Linked DNA regions of Homo sapiens: regions 1 and 2 are each linked to region 3. The links are contacts of gene promoters, found by promoter capture Hi-C in blood cells and fetal thymus (Javierre and others, 2016). All regions are on one chromosome and are shown on one strand. Each heading gives the region's core, a stretch centred on a gene start or on the middle of the fragment in contact. The rest is flanking DNA. Distances are from core to core; before and after follow the strand shown.

Region 1 (3,063 bases), core at 278-2,777, 180 kb before region 3:
TTTACCGAGCACCTATTATGTGCGCAGGCCCTTTCCTGGGTGCTGGATATCTAATGTTGAATAAGTTAGACATTCTCCAAGTATTACTGAAAAGTTGAAATTCTGTTTTTAAGACCTTCTATGATTAATTCTTCACATGATGTTCAGTTTTGTGTGGCCTGGGGTATAACTGAAAGTTTCATAAGATCACTACGTCCTATTTCCATATAGATCAAATAAAAGACTCTTGTCCATCATAAATCTGAGCCACTGTTTAATTGGACATCCCATTTTTTGCTTTAATCAAAACTAGTTCTTTAGCTATGATTTATCGTTTATCTTAGTTCTTTCTCCTCCCTTCCATTACCAAGAAAATTGACTCTCTTTTTATCAGCTTTTTTTTTTTTTAAGACAGAAATGTTTTTATGACTTCATGTGCTTGTATATATATGAGACTAGGTAGAACTCTACAAAGCTGCGTCGGAACAGTGGAGATTGGCTGGGTTCTCTCGTTAGCTAAGTGCCTCACTCTTGCTTTCCACCCTTAGAGAATATACAGAACATACTTATGCCTTAGCAAAATTAAAAATTACAAGTTATAAACTCTTGGGGTTTATCTCAAGTAATCAAAATCAGGGATGTTAATCCTGAAGACACCAAGGACTTACTGCTGTGTAATATTTCTACCAGTTAGGCCTTCAATCATTATGATGCCTAACATCTCCTCATGGGATGACTTTAGACATCTCGGAGCAAACTTACAATTCCAGGTCTAAGGTGAGGAAATGAAAAAGGAACTTCTTAATTTTATACAACTCACAGCTTGCAGGCCTGGGGTTAGGATTTCTCAGTCCTTAAGCAGTACCGTCTTTAACAGACAAGCCCACAGGAGAACTTTGGCATTGGTTCACCTCTTTCTCTGACATAACCTGTGAACACCAGGCTCTGCTAGCAGGAGTGTAGCTGCCACATCTTCTCCTCTTCTAGTGATCAAATTTCCGCAATTATTATGTAAAGTCTAGAGCCAAAGAAGTTTAGAAACCTTGAATGATCAGTGAAGAGCTGATTGAGCTTCTGCCATTGCATCAGGCACACAAGTAAACAGTTCCAAGTTCCAGCAGCTCAGGGTGCTGCTGGTACCTGCCAGCTTATTATCACCCTATCATCCCAGCAGAAGATTTCAAGTTTTGAATCTCTGAAAGTACATAGGCTTAAATGTTTAGGGACTTCAACATTAAAGGGATCTTTTAAGGAGAGATAGAAAGGCTGCTATTCAGACAGCAGGCAGGAGAACAAATTTCTAAGTACTTTTATTTGGGCCGTGGTCTATTCTCTGGGAGCTGGCAATCCTATGATCAACTTTTGCCTTCTATTTATAAATAAAAAATGAAAACACCAAGGAAAGGGTGAAGCTCTAACCAAAGAATAATGTGAACTAAAAATGATTAAGGCAATACCAGCAACTATATTCATTGGCCAAAAAAAAAAAAAAAAAAAAACTGGTAATACCCATATAAAAGGAAAATAAACCAAGAGTAAAAGTGATTAAAATAGCAACAAAGTTAAAACAAAGTAAAATAAACAAAATAAGGAAACAAGGCATACTGTTGGGCTGTGACAAATAAAGAAAACTTAAATAAGATAATAAAAAATAAATACAGTAAAATGAAATAAGGATTTGAGCCAGGGACTTTATACGATATGTATAGTTTAAGCCGGGAGGTTGGGAAAATAGGCATAGGTGTGCTCTTGCACAGATATTACTAGCAGGCTAAATGGTAAACCTCTTTATGAGTGGTTTTCAAGCTGTCTTCTGAGAAGCCCTGGAGCTAGTTTCTTATAGGCCCTCTAGGGCGTGGCTTGGGGGAAGAATAGGTCTGGAGATAGGCCAGACCATGCTGCCACAGGCCATTTGCTTTTGCTTCTGTTTCTGCCAGAGAAACTGTGCCTCCAGCTGCCTTATCGGTGTCTACAGAGAAAATTCAGAGAGGACTGTGAACTTGCATAAGAATAAAATTATATTTTTATTTTCACTAACCTCAATAATATTTAGCATTTCTTTCATTTATGAATGTAGGCAGCAGATGACTATAATATTAACAGCATCTGTGTCTTTCTTGCCAATAAAAATCATTGATTTTTTCATATCACATTACATTTGTTACAGATATCACTGCTTAGAAATTATGTTAGTAATTAAACCTACCGCTAGCTAGTGTTATTTCATGCATTAATAAAGCAGCACATATGTTACCATATCCCAAAGATTTCTTAATATCTTGATAATTGTATTTCAATATAATTGGTTTCTGTTGTAAGAAACTAATTCTGAGAAGCCTTCATCAGACTGCCAGAGGGTTCAAGACAAAAAATTGTTAGGAACCCTGCTGTGAGATCTTGTTTGAAAAATAGGTTCTTTTGCTTAGACTTATTTTTATTTCTTCCCTTAGGTTTTTTGGGTTTTAAATACTCTGGGTCTTTGTTTTCTCTTCTTACAAAGAAGACTTTCTTAGTTTAGACCTTACCAAGTAAGACAAGCATATAATTGATGGGTTTTCTGTCTTCACAATGAAAATTTAGATACAGCCAGTCTCCCAAGTTTCCCTACAGCACCGGAAAAAAGGTGTGGTGAGGAGTGAGAAGATTTGGACAGGCCCTGAGATGCTACCTGTCAGGAGACCAGCGCTGGCAGGGTGCTAGACAGGAGCATTTCCGCTTTATTTTGATATCACCATCACCCAGTCCTTGGTGAGGTAAGAAGTCATGCTCTTTCCCAGTGGTAGCAGCAAAGGTTCTGTGACGCAGAAAAGAGAGGTAACAGAACAGCTCAGCTAACAGCTGCTGACAGGAAATGTCTGTTCAGTGGGCATAAAAAGACTGCATTTATTTTTTATATTTGTTTAAAAGAATTTTTATATCCCATGTTAATTTTAAAAACAGTTAGGCAAAATACTTTCTTTTTCTGGGCAAAGGATTAATTTCTACTTCCTATCCACACGCCCTCTTGTTAATATTTGGAAGAGAAAAGGGTTCCTACCTTTGCTTTACTATAAACTTAGAGCATTCCTAAGAATTAGATTTGCA
Region 2 (3,320 bases), core at 106-2,605, 200 kb before region 3:
GAAAGCTTATTAACACTTTCCTAGGTATGTAGGGAAGATTAGGAAATGAGGCCACTAGGTTTGGTGTCTTGGTGTTGGGTATAGTCAGTCACACAAATCCAGGGAACATTGTCATGGATACCTGAGTAAGCAGTAACTGTTTGCCAAATAATGAGTATAATAATCTGCAGCGGGGCAGCACGCAGTGGCACACGCCTATAATCCCAGCACTTTGGGAGGCTGAGGTAGGCAGATCAAGTCAGGAGTTCAAGACCAGCCTGGACAACATGGTGAAACCCCGCCTCTACTAAAATTACAAAATAGCCGGGCGTGGTGGCGCACACCTGTAATCCCAGCTACAATGGAGGCTGAAGCAGGAGAATCGCTCGAACCCGGGAGGCAGAGGTTGCAGTGAGCCAGAGATCACGCCGCTGCACTACAGCCTGGGCGACAGAGCTGACTCTGTCTCAAAAAAAAAAAAGTCTGCAATGAGTAAATATCACATAGAGACATTTGTTCCCTTTCCTCAGTTAAGACTAGTTTTCTTGGAAAAGCAGTACTAGCCACCATTTACTGAATTTTTCCTGCCACCGAGACAGCTGTCCCCTCTGCCTAGAATATCTTTGTATATCCTGAATCTCTCCAGTCAGAATCGATGTTTCCTGCCCTATATTCTTTCAGCACTTTGTGCCTTCCTTGTGTATGATGTGCTGAAGTCTGCACTTGGGAGGCCGACTTCTGGGTGTCAGTCCCAGTTCTGCGGCTTTCAGCTGTCACACTCGGTTTCTGTGCCTATAAATTAGAGATGATGGTAATGCCTGCCTCTCCGTCTGACATGCAGGTGCTTCAGAAATATGTGCACTGAGGAGTCCCTAAGCCCCTTGTTTTTAGCCCTCTATAAAACGTGTGAGGTGAAATAATGTTTTGGAACTCACACTGCTTGGAACAAAGAAAGCTTTTGAGACTTTTTCCTACTGTGTACTGGAAGGTAATTATTGCCGCTTTTTTCAAAATGGACATTGTTTTCGGTTTTACTCGACGACACTACTTGTTTTCCCTCATTTTTATTTGAGCGTTTGGGTTGAGCTACTGGCACTTAGCAGGGAGGCCGCATGGTAGGGAGAGCGCCCGTGGCTCCAGCTCTGGAGATGGGACAGTAGGTGGCAGTGTGGCCCCTGCGGGAATCCGCCGCCCCGCGGGTGGAACGCGGCGAGTGGGCGCGGGGCTGTCGGGTAGCGTGCGCGCGCAGGGCCGCGCCCAGCATGTGGAGCGCTGTGATTGGGCGCCGCCAGCCGGAGGGCCGTGAGGTGCTCAAAGCGGGCTCGCTGATTGGGGGACGGAGGAGGGCCGATATGAGGCTTTCGCCGCTCCCATCCCCATTGGAGATCGAGGCAGCAAGGGACACTGCGGCGTGTGGGTGTGGGCTTCATGTGCCAGAGCGCCGTCTCCCCTGAGCCGTGCCCTGCCGGGGAGTACGGCGAGAGAGAGGTTCTGGCCTCTCGGAGTGGGCTTGCGGTTCCGGTGCCCCCTCTCTTCGTCCTCGTGGCTGATTGTGCCAGAGAGCTCCTCGGGGAGGGCCCTAGCGTGAGGGCAGTTTCCCAGCGCCGGGGCCGCGGTGGACGCCAATGCAGCTGTCTAGGACCTGCGCCCGCGGTGCGTCCAGAGGGCCCCGGCGCGAACGTCAGAACGCCGCCCCGTTCCGCGCTCTCAGCAGCCAGCCAGGGCCGCTGCCAGTTCCACCGTGGAGAGGAGGAAACCGGGCGAGAGCCTCACTTTCCTTTCCGCCCAAAAAGCTTTCTCAGTGATTGCTGTAGTACCTGAGATTCTACCATAGGATCTTCCGCCTACATTAAAGTAGTCGATTTCTTCTTTAAAATACTTTTTTATTGGAGTATAATATACATACTGAAAAGTGTGCAAGTCGTAATATAGACATTGATGAATTACCACAAAGCGAGTAAACCTGTGTAGGAAGCAAGAGCATTCCTACCGCTCCAGAAGCCCTTATTGCGGCCCCCACTTAGTCTCTCCAAAGGTAACCGGTATCCTGACTTCTAACGCCACAGATTTTTTTTTTTTAGTGTTTTAACATTTGAAGGTGTAGACACCTTGGTATAAGGAGCCCCCTTTACCCATCACCTGGCTTCAACAATTATCAGCTCTTAGTCTTTATTTTATCTTTATTACTGTTTCCCCATCCCGATGCTTTGGATAATTTTGAAGGAGATCCCAGGCAGTAAGTCATTTCATCCGTAAATATTTTGATACAGATCTCCAAAAGACAAGGGTGCTTTTCAATACCATTATCACACCTAAAATATTAATAGGGTTGTAAATATCACGAAATATCCAGTTAGTGTTCAGATATCCCTGATACTCTCTTTCTTATTTTATTTTATTTTCTTAGAGCCTTGCTCTTGTCGCCCAGGTTGGAGTGCAATGGCACGATCTCAGCTCGCTTAAACCTCCTCCTCCCAGGTTCAAGCGATTCTCCTGCCTCAGCCTCCCGAGAAGCTGGGATTACAGGCGCCCGCCACCATGCCCGGCTAATTTTTGTATTTTTAGCAGAGATGGGGTCTTGCCTTTTTGGTCATGCTGGTCTCGAACTCGTGACCTCGTGATCCGCCCACCTCGGCCTCCCCAAGTGCTGGGATTACAGGCGTGAGCCACCGCTCCTGGCTCAGGTATCCCTGATACTCTCAAATTTTTTTTTTTATGATTTGGTTGAATCAGGATTCAAATAAAGCCTCGTATAATACAATTGGTTGCTATGTGCCCCCGTTAACTCTTTCTGAATCTTTTTAATAGAAACATACAGAAGTAGAGAGAGTAGAATAAACCCCTGTGTACTGTCACCCAGCTCCAGCAATTATCAATTCCCTACCAGTGTTGTTTCATCAACTCCCCACCTGTTCACCAGATTACTTTTTAACAAACTTAATTATCGGGGTTTTTTTATATGTACTTTGATATGTACCTCTAAAAGATAAGGATTTTTAAAAACGTAATTAATCATACTATTCTAAAAAACTAGTACTTCTGTAATATTAAATATTCCATTAATGTTCACATTTTCCCAAATGTCTTATAAATTTCTTTTTAATTTAGTTTGTTGAAATGTGATCTAGATAAGGTCCATACCTTGCAATGTGTTGAGTTGTCTCAACTATCTTAGTTTGTAAGTTTTTTGCAATTTATTTATTGAACAAAACAGGTCTTTTTTGGAGTTTCCCACATTCTAGATTTGCTGATTTCATCCTTATTGTGGTGTTTAGCGTGCTCCTCTGCCTTCCATATGTCTTGTGAAACTGGTAGTTGGAGAAAGGGGCTTGATCAGATTC
Region 3 (2,912 bases), core at 150-2,649:
GCGAGGGGAGGGCCGGGACGCCAGGGATAAAGGGAAAGGCAGAGACCAGAGCTGCCCACCCAGGGACTCCCAGGGCAACAAAGCCAGGCAAACTGAGAGGTGGGGGCGCGCGGCCCCCGCCAGCCCGAGGCCCGGGCGGAGCGCAAGCCCAGCCAGCCGTGCCCGACGGGGGCGCCGCAGTGTGGGGGGGCAGGTGTGGCGGGCGGTCCGGAGGCACTGCGGCAGCTCGGGTGGGGCTGGGGGCGGTCTCTCTGTGCGCCCGAGGCTGTGCCCGCCGGACCCTCACGGCCCCGCCCAGGGTCCCCGGCGTACCGCTATTCGGCCTCCGCAGAGCGCGCCACTGGTGCGAGCACCGGGCGAGGAGCTGACCCTACCCGCTGACGTCTCCCTCACCGACCCCCTTCAAGCTACCACTCCCGAGGCTGGGACTTCTAAAAGCAGCAGCCCCACCCCGCAACTTGGGGTCCCATTGTCCTTTCTGAGAGCTGCAGCCAAGGCCCCAAGGGCGGTAGCGAGGCGGGCTCTGTCTGGTGGCGAAGCGCAGGCGGTTCTGCATCCCAGCATCTCCCCGGGGAGGGGGGGGCGGGGGGAGCGGGCGTGGCCCTAGGACTAGCCTAGTCATTCTGAGGAAAGAAAGGATCGGGAGGTTTGAAATCAGAAAAGGCGTTTCTCAGGGGCTGAGGTAGCCGTGGTGAGGATGAATCCCACGCGGGCCCTGGCACATGGGCTTCGGCCCCAGGTCTGCGGTGGTGGGGGTCCCAGCCTTTTCCTGAGGCCAGAAGAGGACTGAAAGGAGTGGTTGCATCAGGTCTCCCCCACCCTTCTGCCTCCTGCGGTTGCGGCTTTATTGTGGCCTCTGCTCCCCTGACACCTGCATTTCACTTAGCGGGAGAGGCGGTGGCCAACTCAGCACAGGCTGCGGACTCAGCGTGGTGACAGATCCCTCAAGGTTATTGGAGACTCTCCCTCTGGGTCTCATATCTAATAATTCGGATTATTCTTAATTAGCCCAGAAAGGGTCTGGACCAAGTATGAGAGGTGACGAGGAGAGGCATGGGTGCGGGGCGCGCGGGAGGAGCGCAGTGACCGTCGCGCCCTGGGTGGGGTCGTGTTTGCGCGTCTCCCAGCGCGCGTCTCTGGGGGCGCGGGGCCACTTACCGAGCTCGATGTTGCCGATGGCACGCCGCAGGTGCTCCTCGGTCACGATCTCGCCGACGACCACCAGCAAGTAGAACTTGCTGTCAAGGAAGCGGTGCGACAGGCTAGGCGAGGTGGACGCCGCCGGGTTGGCGATGCTGCCGGACGGCTCCGGCTCGGTGGCTTCCACCACCACGGTCGCCATCCTGCCGGCTGCTGTGCCTCGGCGAAGTGTCTCGCTCCGGCCGCTCCTCTCCACTGCGGCAGGAGAAAGGATTATCTCCGAAGGTACTGTCTCCGCTCCGCCCCCTGCGTCCCCCCTCCTCTGGCGCCGCGCGCCGCCTCCCCCTCCGCCCTCTCCCAGCGCCGCGGAGAGTGCGCGGCGGAGAGGAGCGGGGAGTGAGAGAGGGCGGGGAGGCGGCGCCGCTTTTATATGGAGACTAGGCAGGGAGCCGGGAGGAGGAGGAAGAGGAGGAGGAAAGGACCACCCGGCACATCCTCACGCGGTGGCTGCCTCCGCTCTTCCAGCCGTTGGCCCGGGGCTGATGTCATCTGCAGCAAATCATCTCGCCCGCGGCCCGGAAGCTGGAGGGACGAGGTGTGCGGACAATGGTCGGGGCAGGGCCGCGAGCCAAGGGGCTGGGGCGCCCGCTGAGCTCCTGCTGCAGCCGTGAAGGGGGAAGACGCTCTCAACCTACACCACCCACCACGTACACACCCACTGCCCACTCCTCACCCTCACCCTGTCTGTGCATGGGAATGGGATGAGTTTCCATTTTCGGAGTGGGGGTCTTTTCTCTTGTTGGAGTTGCACTAGTCAGGCCTCTGCCTTGTGTGCTGTGTATGATGTAGCCAGGTTCTCAGGAACTGGGATAGCCACAGTGGGCAGATGCGGGGCTGTGGGTACCCCGCCTAGGAAGACGGAACCTGTCTTTTCTTTGACCTTGTGGCTTTAAGAAGACGAATTTACTGATATTTACCAATATCAATATTTACCACCTTCACTTAAAGAATACATCAAAAATGCAAAACTTAAGCCTACTATTGTTCAGGCCTTGGATTCTACTCTGGCAGGGCCAAGGATGAAAAAGTACTGGCTTTGTGGTGCTCATGGGAAATGAGAGAAATGCAGATGTATTATATTAGATACCAATTTCTTTCCTTAATGTGCTGAACAGATAGTATCAGTAATAACAAAGAATAAAGAGAAGATACTGTCTCTACTCAGCAGGGTTACAGTGACTATAATGTACTTTTCAGTTCCTTGGGGAACACACAAGCAAAATTACCTCGTGACAATGATGTCTTTTAAAATACCTGTAGCATTGGGAATTTTTATTGCCTTTGTTTGTGTTTAGAAGAACTAAAAAATGTGTTTTTTGTTTTTGTTTTTTTGTTTTTTTTTTTAAGGCAGCCTATTTACAACCGTTTCTCACAAACATACTGAATATAGCTTCTGTCCCAGAAAAGGGGAGGAGGGTGAGGAAAGAGCAAAATGTGCAAACATGGTATCATAGAAGACTGGGGAATTCGAGCTTTAAGGAAGAGGAATAGATGGAAATTAGTCAACATAGCTTTAATACTAGAATGCCTGTTAGTAAAATATAGATGATAGATAGATAGATAGATAGATAGATAGATAGATAGATAGATAATCACCTAGATATTCTTAAGATTTCCAAAATAACCCAGTGTCTTAGGTGTTAGCTGCCATGACTTATTGGTCATGTACTCTTTGCTCTTATATCTTTCCTGACACCCTGGCATGGGAGACA

The links. Contacts are between HindIII fragments. The CHiCAGO score rates a contact against its expected background, and 5 or more counts as called.
Region 1: a fragment that was not itself captured here is called in contact with the fragment with the promoter of MAP1B in region 3 in 1 of 17 cell types (total CD8 T cells); the score reaches 5.1 in total CD8 T cells.
Region 2: a contact is called between a fragment that was not itself captured here and the fragment with the promoter of MAP1B in region 3, in 1 of 17 cell types (endothelial precursors). The highest score is 5.5, in endothelial precursors.

The regions. Positions count from the first base shown.
Region 1 is chr5:72,290,619-72,293,681 of GRCh38, reverse strand. The region is part of intron 4 of MRPS27 (mitochondrial ribosomal protein S27); the gene reads left to right. LOC107986422 (a long non-coding RNA gene) reads left to right here. Exons shown (of 2, transcript XR_001742742.2): 1 at 1-2,732. Among named protein-coding and RNA genes, the nearest start is that of MRPS27, 28 kb to the left of the region's middle. The HindIII fragment of the contact is 4,217 bases long and covers 1-3,063 here.
Region 2 is chr5:72,306,412-72,309,731 of GRCh38, reverse strand. All of the region lies in intron 2 of MRPS27 (mitochondrial ribosomal protein S27), which reads left to right. Among named protein-coding and RNA genes, the nearest start is that of MRPS27, 12 kb to the left of the region's middle. RefSeq lists a silencer at 1,031-1,320 and an enhancer at 1,371-1,620. The HindIII fragment of the contact is 838 bases long and covers 937-1,774 here.
Region 3 is chr5:72,105,962-72,108,873 of GRCh38, reverse strand. It overlaps MAP1B (microtubule associated protein 1B), which reads right to left and starts at 1,399. Exons shown (of 7, transcript NM_005909.5): 1 at 1,159-1,399. The coding sequence starts at 1,342. LOC105379028 (a long non-coding RNA gene) reads left to right here. Exons shown (of 3, transcript XR_007058813.1): 1 at 1-99; 2 at 887-949. RefSeq lists enhancers at 1-92, 498-1,480. The HindIII fragment of the contact is 9,795 bases long and covers 1-2,912 here.